Linked DNA regions of Homo sapiens: regions 1, 2 and 3 are each linked to region 4. Evidence: promoter capture Hi-C in 16 types of primary human blood cells and fetal thymus (Javierre and others, 2016). All regions are on one chromosome and are shown on one strand. Each heading gives the region's core, a stretch centred on a gene start or on the middle of the fragment in contact. The rest is flanking DNA. Distances are from core to core; before and after follow the strand shown.

Region 1 (2,700 bases), core at 18-2,517, 180 kb after region 4:
GCAGCACGTGGCCTAGGGGAGGAAACAGAGGTGTCACCAGGAACCAAGAACCCTGCAGAGAGAATCCCTTGAAGACGGGGTAGGGGCAGGGTCTGGAAGCTTCACTGGATAATGGGAACCTTTTGGCCTACTCTGTTTAAGAACAAAACTCAAAATTTTTGGATTTGTTTCTCTGCAGCTATATTCACTGAACATATCTAAAGTCGAATCCTTGTAGCACCTAGAGGCGTGCTTGGCAGAGGGGCTCTGCCCCATAAGCTGCTGTCTCTGCAGAGACCTCCCTTAGCCATTCCTGCGCCTTGGCCAGAGATGCTGCTTCCTCAGCTAAGGCCACTGCCAGTGCCCTTTCTGCTCGGACTTCACTTTCTTCGTGAGGTCTCCCTCACCTCCCTATCTAAAATTGCACCACCTTTAATCCCAATACTCCATGTTTTCCTTCCCTTCCCTGTCATTCTCTGTGGCATTCATCATCAGCCTTGTCTCCCCTCTCCAGAATTCAGGCTCCACTGATGGAAGGACTGTGAAAGGAAAATAAAAACTTGGGACCCCCAATTCACTCTGCCAAAAGGAAAAAAATAAGCTGAAGTCTGAGTCCTGCAAGAAGCTGCCTTTCCTTTTGTTCCTAAGCAGAGAGCGTACAGATAAAAGATTTTAAAAATTCTCCACAGGTAGCCACTCTATGTTTACCTTATCATATGTGAAGAGCAGATTTACTGAGTATAAGAGGAATATAATTGACTATTCCCTACCTATTTCTTTTCCCTTGCAACACATGGATTCAGTAATGACTGCACCCTCCCTCTCTGCCCTCCAGCCTGCTTTTCAATAGGGGAAAAACTTTACATATTGAAGCCCTCAAAATCATCTTTGGAGAAAGGCACAGACCACAGACTGCTTTTTCTGTGATTCCATGTTTTTTCTCCTGGGCATTGTCCTTAATCTTGGCAAAATAAGCTTCTAAATTATTAAGACTGTCAGATACTTTTTGGTTGACAGAACCCTGCTTTATCTTATTCACAGTTCTGTCCCTAACTCTCATTTTTTGAATGAATGAATGAGTGAGTTAATGGATCACTCAAAGCCCAAGAGTCCTCATATTTCACTTGTCAGAGAGTTTTCCCTATATCCCCTACGGATTAACTCCTGTTTTACATACAACTCTGACATGCGCCAAGAGATTTGGTGTCCTGCTAACACTCTGGTCTACAGCATCCCAGGGAGAAAAGCAACAAGAAATCCAAAACAGAAATAGCTTGTACAAGTTTATGAAGCAGTCCTCCCCCATGCCCCCCAAAGACTGGAGTGTCAGATGCCCTCCTCGTCTCCCTGATGACCTTCTCACACTATCACAAGTGTTCCCTGTGTCTGCTAACCACGGCCACAACGATGCTGCTTAACAAACCAACGACCCCAGAACTGAATGGTGTGAAACAACGGTCGTTCACTCTTGCTCACAAGTCTGTGGGCAAGATGGAAGTTGGTTAACCTAAACTTGGCAGGGTTAGGCCTGGCTCTGAGCGGCAGATGGGGTCCAAGTCTGCTCCATGGGTGTCTCATCCTCCTTGGACCAGTAAGCTTCCTGGGAGATGATCCTCTTTGGGGATGGCGAAACTGGAAACGATGCGGCCAAAAGCACACACGAGGCCACACTGGGAACTAACTCACTCTTGTCTGCTCACATTCCATCCGACACAGCAAGTCAATGCCCCACCCGGCCATCGGCAGGGCCGGAAGTGGGAGCAGTCGTGCCAGCTGCCATGCCTGACTCTTCTGGCTCCGCAAGGATGGTGACAACCTTGGGGCAGAGCCCTGGTCTTGCTCACAGCCCTCATGGCCCACACACTAGAACATACCGGGGAATACTTATGACTAAAAGCCTGCCCACGGCAGGAGTTGTGAATGAATCCAGGGGAAAAATTCCCAGCCACTTTTACCTTGAGTTGTTCCCTGCTCCTTGCACAGATATCTCTGGGAATGACTTGCAGTAAATCCAGGGCGGCATTGCGGCATTGAGGAACCGACCCTCGCACTCCAGAAACCCTCCCTCGTGAGTGGGGAACCCTGAGTCCAAGGACTCAGAGTTACAGTCTGAGCTCCCCCTTCTGGTGACCTGAGATATTCCCCTTAGCTATGTATCTAGCCTGGAGCTTTCTCCCTTAAACTCTGTTTCTACACAATACTATTCTTCACGAGTTTCTGAAGCACAAATAGTTCCTGTGACTTTACCCCTAACCATACTGTCAGGTTTGCCAGATGAAGGTCACATAAACATCCACCAAGCTGCTGTGTCCTCCTTGGACACGCATTAGCTTATCACATCCCCAACTATACTGGTCCAAGCCAGACTCATTAGTGCACCATTAGAACATGAAAGAAGTAGGAATTTAAATACACTGTAGCTAACCAATACCATATATCAGGATAAGTAAATGAAGTCAAAGCTGGTGTTTTAGGGACTAGTGTATAACAATAGCTATTGTGCCAAATATTGAACATTCATTCTTGCATTTTATCCCCACAAACTGAGTATCATGCTGATTTTACAGAGGATGTATTATAAGAGTTTAAAGGGGTTAAAAGGCCTGGCCGAGATCTTACAGCTAGTAAGCAGATGTTGAAATTTAAACCCAGCACTGGTGATTCCAAAGCCCTTGCTCTTTGAAAATACACCTTCTATGACAGATGCTGCTAGTTTCTTCT
Region 2 (2,700 bases), core at 193-2,692, 140 kb after region 4:
GGGAGCATGTTTTTACCTATGCGGGCAGATTCTTCAGATGCATTATTCAAAGTTCCAGGCATGCTAACAAACAGAGAAAAAGAGAGTTTCCCAAACTTCCAATGATTGCTAAATGTGTCTATAACAGAACTTAGTCCAAACAGCTGAACTTCAACCTAACATTTCAGCCTACATTAAACATGCTACATAGTCTGCTAAGAAGAGTAATACTGCAGTGACTACAGGAAATAGAAAGTGGTGGTCATGTTCCAGTCCTCCCTTCCTGAGTAACTAGCCCAGAACTTAGAAGTTTAACATTAAAAATATGTTATTTTACCTCAGAATTTTTTAGGTCAGGAATTTGGACAGGGCACAGCTGAGTGGTTCGTCTGTTCCATGTGGCATCAACAGAGTTGACTTGGTGGCACTGGACTAAAAGATGGTCTGGTCTGGAGGGGCTCTCATACATCTGGCACCTTGGCAAGGACAGCTGGAAGACTGGGGTCAGCTGAGACCCTCAACTGGAGCACTTACCTGGGATCTCTCCAGCATGGGAGCCTCAGAGTAGTTGGATACCTTCAATGGCCCCTCAGGACTCCAAGAGCAAGTGTTCCATTCAAGAGTTCCAGTTGCAAGCTGCAGGGATTCCCAGAAGTCCCAGAAAGTCACTTCTGTCTCATTCTATTGGTCAATCAAGTCACTAAGACCACCCCGCATTTAGGAAAAGAGGATTTAAACTCCATTTTTAAATGAAAGAAGTAGCAAAGAATTCATGGGCATCTTTAATCCACCACAGACTCTATTTTTATCCCTTTCACAATGTTATGCTTGGATTAAGTACTCACAGGGCCAGTTGGTTTGCTCTGTACATCATGTCACATCATATCTTCACTGCCCTCCAGTGACATAATAAATCTTAGTACTGTAGCAGAATCAGAGGTTCAACATCACCTTTAGGGCTGGAAGAATTAATGAATGTTAGAAAAAATATCATAGCAACATTGACATTAATATCCATTAGACAATTATGTTTTAATACATAGGGAAGAGGACAGCAAATTATGATGGTAAGAGTAAGAACTTTGCAATCACAATCCACCTAAGTTCAAGTCCCTGCTCTGTCAATTACCAGCCATGTAAATTTAAGCAAGGGACTGAAATTTTCTGATCCTTGGCTTTAAAATGAATACAACACCTGCAGTAGTTGTCTCAGGAACCCCTAATTCTTGAGCTATGTCCATTCCTTCAAGAAAAAAATTGTGGGAGAACTTGTATGTACTTTTGAGAAAGTCCTGGTGGACACGAACTCCATCAGCCACGGCAGGTGACCTCCGTAAGTCACCCTTAGCATGGTGTTTCCTTAAATGGAAACACCAATTAAGACTGGGCAGGGAGAATGGGCCAGTCTCCCTGCCCCCTTATCCTTGCTTCCTGGAATCACTTCCCCCATAAATTGCCTGCATCCAAGTCTTTACCTCAGGATCTACCTCCAGGAGAACAAAAACCAAGGGAATTCTTACCTTACAGGATTGTTCTAAGTGTAACATAAACTCCAAACATAGAAACTGCCAGGCGCAGAGCCTCGTACCTCATTGTCTCTCATTCATTCCCTGCCATTTTCATGGGTCCAGACCACTCATCTTTCCCTACACCTGGCCAGCCCTTTCCAGCCCTGCTCACTGCCCAGTCTGTTTCTCCTAATAGGATATCTCGCCCTCCTCTGAGGTGTTGAAATCTCACCCACCCTTAAACATCCTTCTCTGACCTCCCTGGGTGGGGGAAATCCCCTGGTTATACCCACTTACAGCAAACACAGCTCTCTCCTTCCCTACACTTTCCACAAGTTTACATTTTATCTGGGTCATTATATTATCTTTGTCTGTCTTCTTCATGAGATTTAAGCTCCCACAGGACAGGGGACAGGTCTGTATTCCCTAGCCAAGAAAGGAAAAATTACTATTTGTCGAATGAATGAATGAATGAATGAATACACAAGATGTTCTTTCACCTGTGATTTATGCACTGACCTTGTCCTCTTTCCTATTTGCCCTCCACCACTGACACACATGGCCACCCTGGACACCACTTCTCCCCTCCTGTGTTCCCACAGCATATTGTGGTAACTTGCATTGACTACATTCTCCTCTGTGATTCAGTTTAGATATTTTTGCTTATTTGGTTGTTTGTTTTTTTCTTTTTCTTTTGTTCTTTCTTCCTTCCTCCTTCCCTCTCCTTTCTTTCTTACTCTCTTTTTTTCCTTCCTTCTTCCTTTTTCCTTCCTTTCTTCCTTCTTCTCTGCTCTCATCTTTCTTTTTCTTTTTCTCCCTCTCTTTCTCCTCTCTCCCTCTCTCCTCTCTTCTCCTTTCTTTCTTCCTTCCTTTCTTTCTTTCTGAGAGTCTCAGCATAAAAGAATAAGCCACGTGCTCAACAGGAACTCAGGTATGTAAGTGTCAACCCACCCTGGGTCTTGGCTGACTGAGCACTCTGGGACTGTTGTACTGCATGTAGAGCTGACATTTTGCCTTACCCCAGATTCACCTCCTTTCCAAAATCAGGGAGCACTGGCTGCCCCTTATCCTTTAAAACAATATCCCCACTGGGGGAATAAGTTGCCCCAAGATAAGGAAAGGCAGGCCTGGGAACCAGATCACGGATCCTTGTTGCAGAGCAGAGGGACACATCTGAAGGCTCATGTGGCATGGCCATCCTGCTGTCTTTGAA
Region 3 (2,700 bases), core at 152-2,651, 240 kb before region 4:
AAGACCCCAAATAACCAAAACAATCTTGAGCAAAAAGAACAAAGCTAGATGGTTCATACTCCGTGATTTCAAAATATATTGTTAAGCCATTTAAATCAAAACAGCATGGTACTGGCATAAAAACAGACACATGAACAAATGGAATATGACAGAAAGCCCAGAAAGAAACCCACACATTTATGGTCAATAAATTAAAAAAAAAAAAAAAGATGCCAAGAACACACAATGGGGAAAGGATTATCTCTCCAATAAATGGTGTTAGGAAAACCGGCTATCTACAGGGAGAAGAATGAAATTGTATCTCATAGCACATACAACCCATCAATTCAAAATGGGTTAAAGAATGAAATAGAAGACCTAAAGTTGTAAAACTTCTAAAAGAAAACATAGAGGGAAAGCTCTACAGCACTGTTATGGGCAAATATTCTTTTGAATATGACCCTGAAAGCACAGGCAACAAAAACAAAAATAGAAAAATGATATAGCATAAAACTAAAAAGCTTCTGTGTAGCAAAGGAAACAACCCACCAAATGGGGAAAATATTTACAAGCTATATATCTGATAAGGAGTTAATGTGAAGAATATATAAGGAACTCAAACACTGCATTAGCAAGAAAACAAATAGCCCATTTTAAAAATAGGCAAGAGACCTGAAAAGATATTTCTCAAAAGAAAGGATGCAAATGGCCAACAACTATATGAAAAAATGCTGAGTATCACTAATCATCATAGAAATACAAATTGAAACCACAATGACATATCACCTCACACTTGTTAGAGCGGCTTTTATCAAAAAAATTAATCTGTTGTACATTGTTGGTAGAAATGTAAATTAGTACAGCCATTAAGAGAAACTCTATGAAGTCTCATCAGAAAAACTAAAAATAGAGCTACCATATGATTCAGCAATCCCACTTTTGGGTACATATCCAAAGAGATTGAAATCAGTATGGCAAAGGGTTAACTACGCTCCTATGCTTACTGCAGCACTATTCACAATAGCCAAGATATGGAATCAACCTTAGTGTCCATCAACAGAGGAATGGACAAAGAAAATGTGGTACATGTATGCAACGAAATACTATTCAGCCTTTACAAAAGGAAATTCAATCATGTGGGAGAACACGAATAAACTTGGAAGCTATGCTAAGTGAAATAAGCCGGGCACAGAAAGACAAATGCTGCAAGAGCTCACTCATATATAGAACCTTAAAAAGTTGAACTCATAGAAGTAGAGAATAGAATGATGATTATGGAGGCTTGATTGGTGGGGAGAAGAGGGTGAATGGGGAGATACTGGTCAAAGAGTACAAAGTTTCAGATAGATGGGAGGAGTTAAGTTTTCAGGCATATTTCACAGCAAGATAACTATAGCCAATAATATTGTATTGCACATTTCAAAATAACTAAGAGAGTAAGTTTCAAATGTCTGTCCACAAAAAAAGTAAGCAAGGTGATGGATGTGTTAATTAGCTTGAGTTAATCACTCCACATTGTATACATATATCAAAACATCACATCAATACTTTTTTTTGCATGTGGTATGAGATACAATTTCATTCTTCTCCCTGTAGATAACCAGTTTTCCTAACACCACTTATTGGAGAGGTAATCCTTTCCCCATTGTGAGTTCTTGGCATCTTTTTTTAAAATCTATTGACCATTAAATGTATTGTATATATTTAATCTATTGTAAATGTATACAATTATGATTTGTTAATTAAAAATAATTTTAAAATAAAGAAGTTGAAAAAAATTTAAACAATCTGCAAGCCTGTTCTTAATTCGCCAATTAAAAATATTGTGGAATGCTCCAGAGACTCCAAGCCCAGGGATTTATTTCAGTTGTATACTCTGTATATCTGGTGGGTGTATCCCTGGTCAGCAGTTTTATTTGAATTCAGTAAAGCCATGTTTTCATTCTCTCAGCCAGTGCCAGCTTCACCTATTCAGAGATGGGTCGTAGGTATGACTTACCCACCACCTGAGAACCTGGGGGTTAGCATGAAGGAAAAAGGCATTAGGTGTTTTTTCCTGCCTAATGCCATCACTTTTAGTGATGTACTACTGCCATAAGGTCTGTGATTTCCAGGTTACTATGTGCCTTTATATGCATGTGTATGTGTGAGTGCACACACACATATGTGTAATTCACAAAACCAGGACCTGTCCAAATCTGTATCAGAGGTACAATTTTCATAACAGCCATTGTTCACCTATTCTTAAGGTGGCTGCCTGTTCACCATTAAACACATGTTGACGTTTGCAGTCAAAGCCCCAGGGAAGTGAAACAAAGCTTCCTTTTGTGAATGTCATACAGTTTTAGGGTTTAGTTTATAAAAGCAATATTTGCAGAAAGCTGGCTACTATTATGCAACTTGTGCTCACCTGAAAAGTAAAAATTCATAGCTTTCACTTCAGGTGTATGATCATTGAAAAGCCAAACACATTTTCATCTGAAATAACGGGGACAAGACTGCTTTACAGGCCTGAGAACAGCCCACCAAGACAACAAGACAGCTGCCATCCTGGATGACGGATACTTTGAACCAAAGGAAGTTTTGTTCTTGAGAGAGAACTGAAAATAATGAACAAAACTATTGGCTCTTCTTACTAACCTCATTTTAAAGGTTATGAAATGAATGTTTCTGAAATTAGGGTTTTATTGAGACCAGCATTCTTTCAGTGTCATATAAAAA
Region 4 (2,700 bases), core at 138-2,637:
GGTTTCACCGTGTTAGCCAGGATGGTCTAGATCTCCTGACCTCGTGATCCGCCCGCCTTGGCCTCCCAAAGTACTGGGATTACAGGCATGAGCCACTGCGCCCGGCCATACCAAATTTCTTAGAAGAAATTTGTTCTATTGACGGTTTCCTTGCTTTCACCTTGTGTCATAAAATAACGCTTTATCTTATAAAATAGCCTGTAGTAATTCCATTTGAGCATTGTTACTCAAGTCTTCACTTGGAATTTGCCTAACTCCTTCCCCTCCCCGAAGTCACCTCCAAGCTCAAAGGCGACATTCAGGGCTGAGCATCCGAGCACGTGGAGCTGGTTCTCTGTTTCCTCTTCCGCGGAACTCCGCCTGGCGGTCTGGGGAGGGGAAGGAGCCGCGCTCGGGCTGACGCGATCCCCGGGGGCTCCCAATGACAGGCCAGGAGCCTGTGGACTCGGGCAGCCTCTGGGAACGGAGGACACACGGAACGTACCTGCTGTGACAGACAGTGGAAGGGCGATGGACAACCCGCAGAGCAGCAAGGACCACATCCCCAAACCGGGCTGCAAGGAAGGGAGAAGAGGGTGGGAGGGGAGGACGCAGTAGGGCGGGCCCGAGGCGCCGGCGTGGGCGACCTCGGAATCTCAAAGACAACCGCCCAGGCCGCTGACCTTCCCTTTTTCCTGGGGAGCCCTCCGACTTTGGCCCCACGTTTCCCCAAAGACTGCCCTTCCCCTGTCTCCTTCGTCTGGGCGCCCGACCAGGATCCAGGGCAGGGAGCTCGCCCCGCCGCAGAGGAGGATGGGCGAGGAGTAGGCGGCGGCGGCGGTGGGGACCGCGTGGGAGCTGCTTCTGCCACCTGACAGCGAAGCAGGCTGGTGTCCAGAGCCCCCGTGAGGGCCAGGGCGCCCCCCAGCGCAGCCTGCGGCCTGGGTTCCAGACGTGGGACCCCAACCCCGCTCGCGGCGCACGGAGCCTCCCCTGCGCGCCTGTGTCCTCGGGATCCACCCGAGCCTGGCGGTCTAAACAGAAACCCCAAACACCCGCTCACTGGGGAGCAGCCAGGGCAGGCCTACCTGGCAAGGGCCAGCGGGAAAGGAGAAAGGAAGGCAGGGAGCCGCTGGAGCTGAAAATAGCCGCGAGCTCCACTCCTCGACCCAGAGACGGAGTCGGCTCCCCCATGGTCACCTAGCCGGTCGGGGGCCGGCCTGGGGGGCCTGATCCCTGGCCTGCGGTGGCACACATTGTTGCCACGTCTTTTCCTGCACACCTCTCCTACTGTCAGGGCCCCACCCATGCCTGGCTCAGCCAGACTCCCGGCCCGGTGTCTACCTGCCTGCAGGATTGAAGCGCGCAGGACCTCGTGGAGAGTGGAAAATATGACAGGGACACGAGCCCTGTCATGCCACTTCCATGCCTAGGTATTTCCCCGCCACCGTGGGCGGGGCAGACCTGCCTTCCCCAGTGGAGCGTAGGAAGGAATGTGACATCACACTAGGAAGTGGCTTGAAAGTCTTTGAGCCTGATTTTCTGGCATCTAAGTCCTTCATCACCAGGAGTGTCTGCTTAAGTCTATTCCAAGTTGAACGTCTAAATGAATTATTCATTCCTTTCCAAATCCTATTTGAGCAGTTACTGCATGCTCTGCATTGGCCTATGTGGAATGACCCCAAAGTGGAAGCCATCCCAAATGGCTTCTAAGGAGAATTATGAATCTGCCTGAGTCGTGCTCATTAACTTCTGTAAGGCAGGAATCCCATGGTGTTCAAGTACTTCAGAGCCTGAAGACTGTTCCTGTCTAAAACTTCCCGATAAGGTGATGTCAACAGGGACCTGTTGCCCTAGCCATCAGGAGACACCCCAGAGTCATCCCACAGGGCACTGAGTTGTAGGAAAAGGTTCAAAATGTAATCTCCATTCAATAGATTACTGGTCAAGCTCTTCCCAACGGTCTTTGAAAGATCAGAGACAGTGAGACAAAAGCAACCATAGGAGCAGAGATGCAATAATTGTGCTAATAGCAAAGCTTCCTGTGATAGGCTGAAGGTCAGTGGTTTGTAGATTTCTACACTCTTAAAAAGTATTGAGGATTCCAAAGTGCTTTTGTCTATGTAGGTTATGCCTGTCAATATTACTACATTAGAAGTTAAAGGGAGAATTTTTAAACGTTTACTTTCTTATTTAAGTGACAATAAACCCATTACATGTTAACGCAAATATCATACAATTTATGAAAAATAACTCTACTTTCTAAAACAGGCTTATTGAGAAAAGCGGCATTGTTCTACATAGATGCAGATCTCTTTGATGTCTGGCTTACTAGAAGATGACTGGATTCTCATACTTGCTTCTGCAATCAGTGTCATGATATAATATGTCATATAGCTTCTGAAAAGGTCCACCATACACTAATGAGAGAATGAGAATAAAAAAGGAATATAAGGTCTTAATATTACGATGAACATAGTTTTGATTTCACAGATCTTTTTGAAGGGTCTCTCAGGGACCCATAGGGCTCCCACTCTTTGAGGACCTCTTTCTTAAGCTATAAATAGAGATTATTATTTATTTCCCCTACTATCAGCAGTAAACGAGGTTCCTCTGTATATGTATATTCTTCAGCGTTTATGTCCTCATCCAAAACAAAACAAAAGTGTTACTATTTTTATAAAAGTCATATGATTTGCATTCAGAATTATTTCTATGAGC

The links. The method cuts DNA at HindIII sites, captures the fragments that hold promoters and counts their contacts. A CHiCAGO score of 5 or more calls a contact.
Region 1: a contact is called between a fragment that was not itself captured here and the fragment with the promoter of IL1RL2 in region 4, in 9 of 17 cell types (M2 macrophages, M1 macrophages, M0 macrophages and 6 more). The highest score is 10.4, in M2 macrophages.
Region 2: a contact is called between a fragment that was not itself captured here and the fragment with the promoter of IL1RL2 in region 4, in 2 of 17 cell types (activated CD4 T cells and M2 macrophages). The highest score is 6.0, in activated CD4 T cells.
Region 3: a contact is called between a fragment that was not itself captured here and the fragment with the promoter of IL1RL2 in region 4, in 6 of 17 cell types (activated CD4 T cells, naive CD4 T cells, M2 macrophages and 3 more). The highest score is 9.4, in activated CD4 T cells.

What each region holds. Positions count from the first base shown.
Region 1 is chr2:102,005,827-102,008,526 of GRCh38, reverse strand. It overlaps IL1R2 (interleukin 1 receptor type 2), which reads right to left. Exons shown (of 9, transcript NM_004633.4): 2 at 1-12. Among named protein-coding and RNA genes, the nearest start is that of IL1R2, 15 kb to the right of the region's middle. The HindIII fragment of the contact is 621 bases long and covers 957-1,577 here.
Region 2 is chr2:102,041,889-102,044,588 of GRCh38, reverse strand. LOC107985926 (a long non-coding RNA gene) reads right to left here and starts at 2,163. Exons shown (of 3, transcript XR_001739615.1): 1 at 1,500-2,163; 2 at 825-938; 3 at 1-615. RefSeq lists an enhancer at 1,973-2,700. The HindIII fragment of the contact is 3,739 bases long and covers 1-2,700 here.
Region 3 is chr2:102,425,489-102,428,188 of GRCh38, reverse strand. All of the region lies in intron 3 of IL18RAP (interleukin 18 receptor accessory protein), which reads right to left. Among named protein-coding and RNA genes, the nearest start is that of IL18RAP, 3.7 kb to the right of the region's middle. The HindIII fragment of the contact is 1,797 bases long and covers 503-2,299 here.
Region 4 is chr2:102,185,710-102,188,409 of GRCh38, reverse strand. It overlaps IL1RL2 (interleukin 1 receptor like 2), which reads right to left and starts at 1,387. Exons shown (of 12, transcript NM_003854.4): 1 at 1,324-1,387; 2 at 485-554. The coding sequence starts at 542. RefSeq lists an enhancer at 1,202-1,731. The HindIII fragment of the contact is 3,870 bases long and covers 1-2,019 here.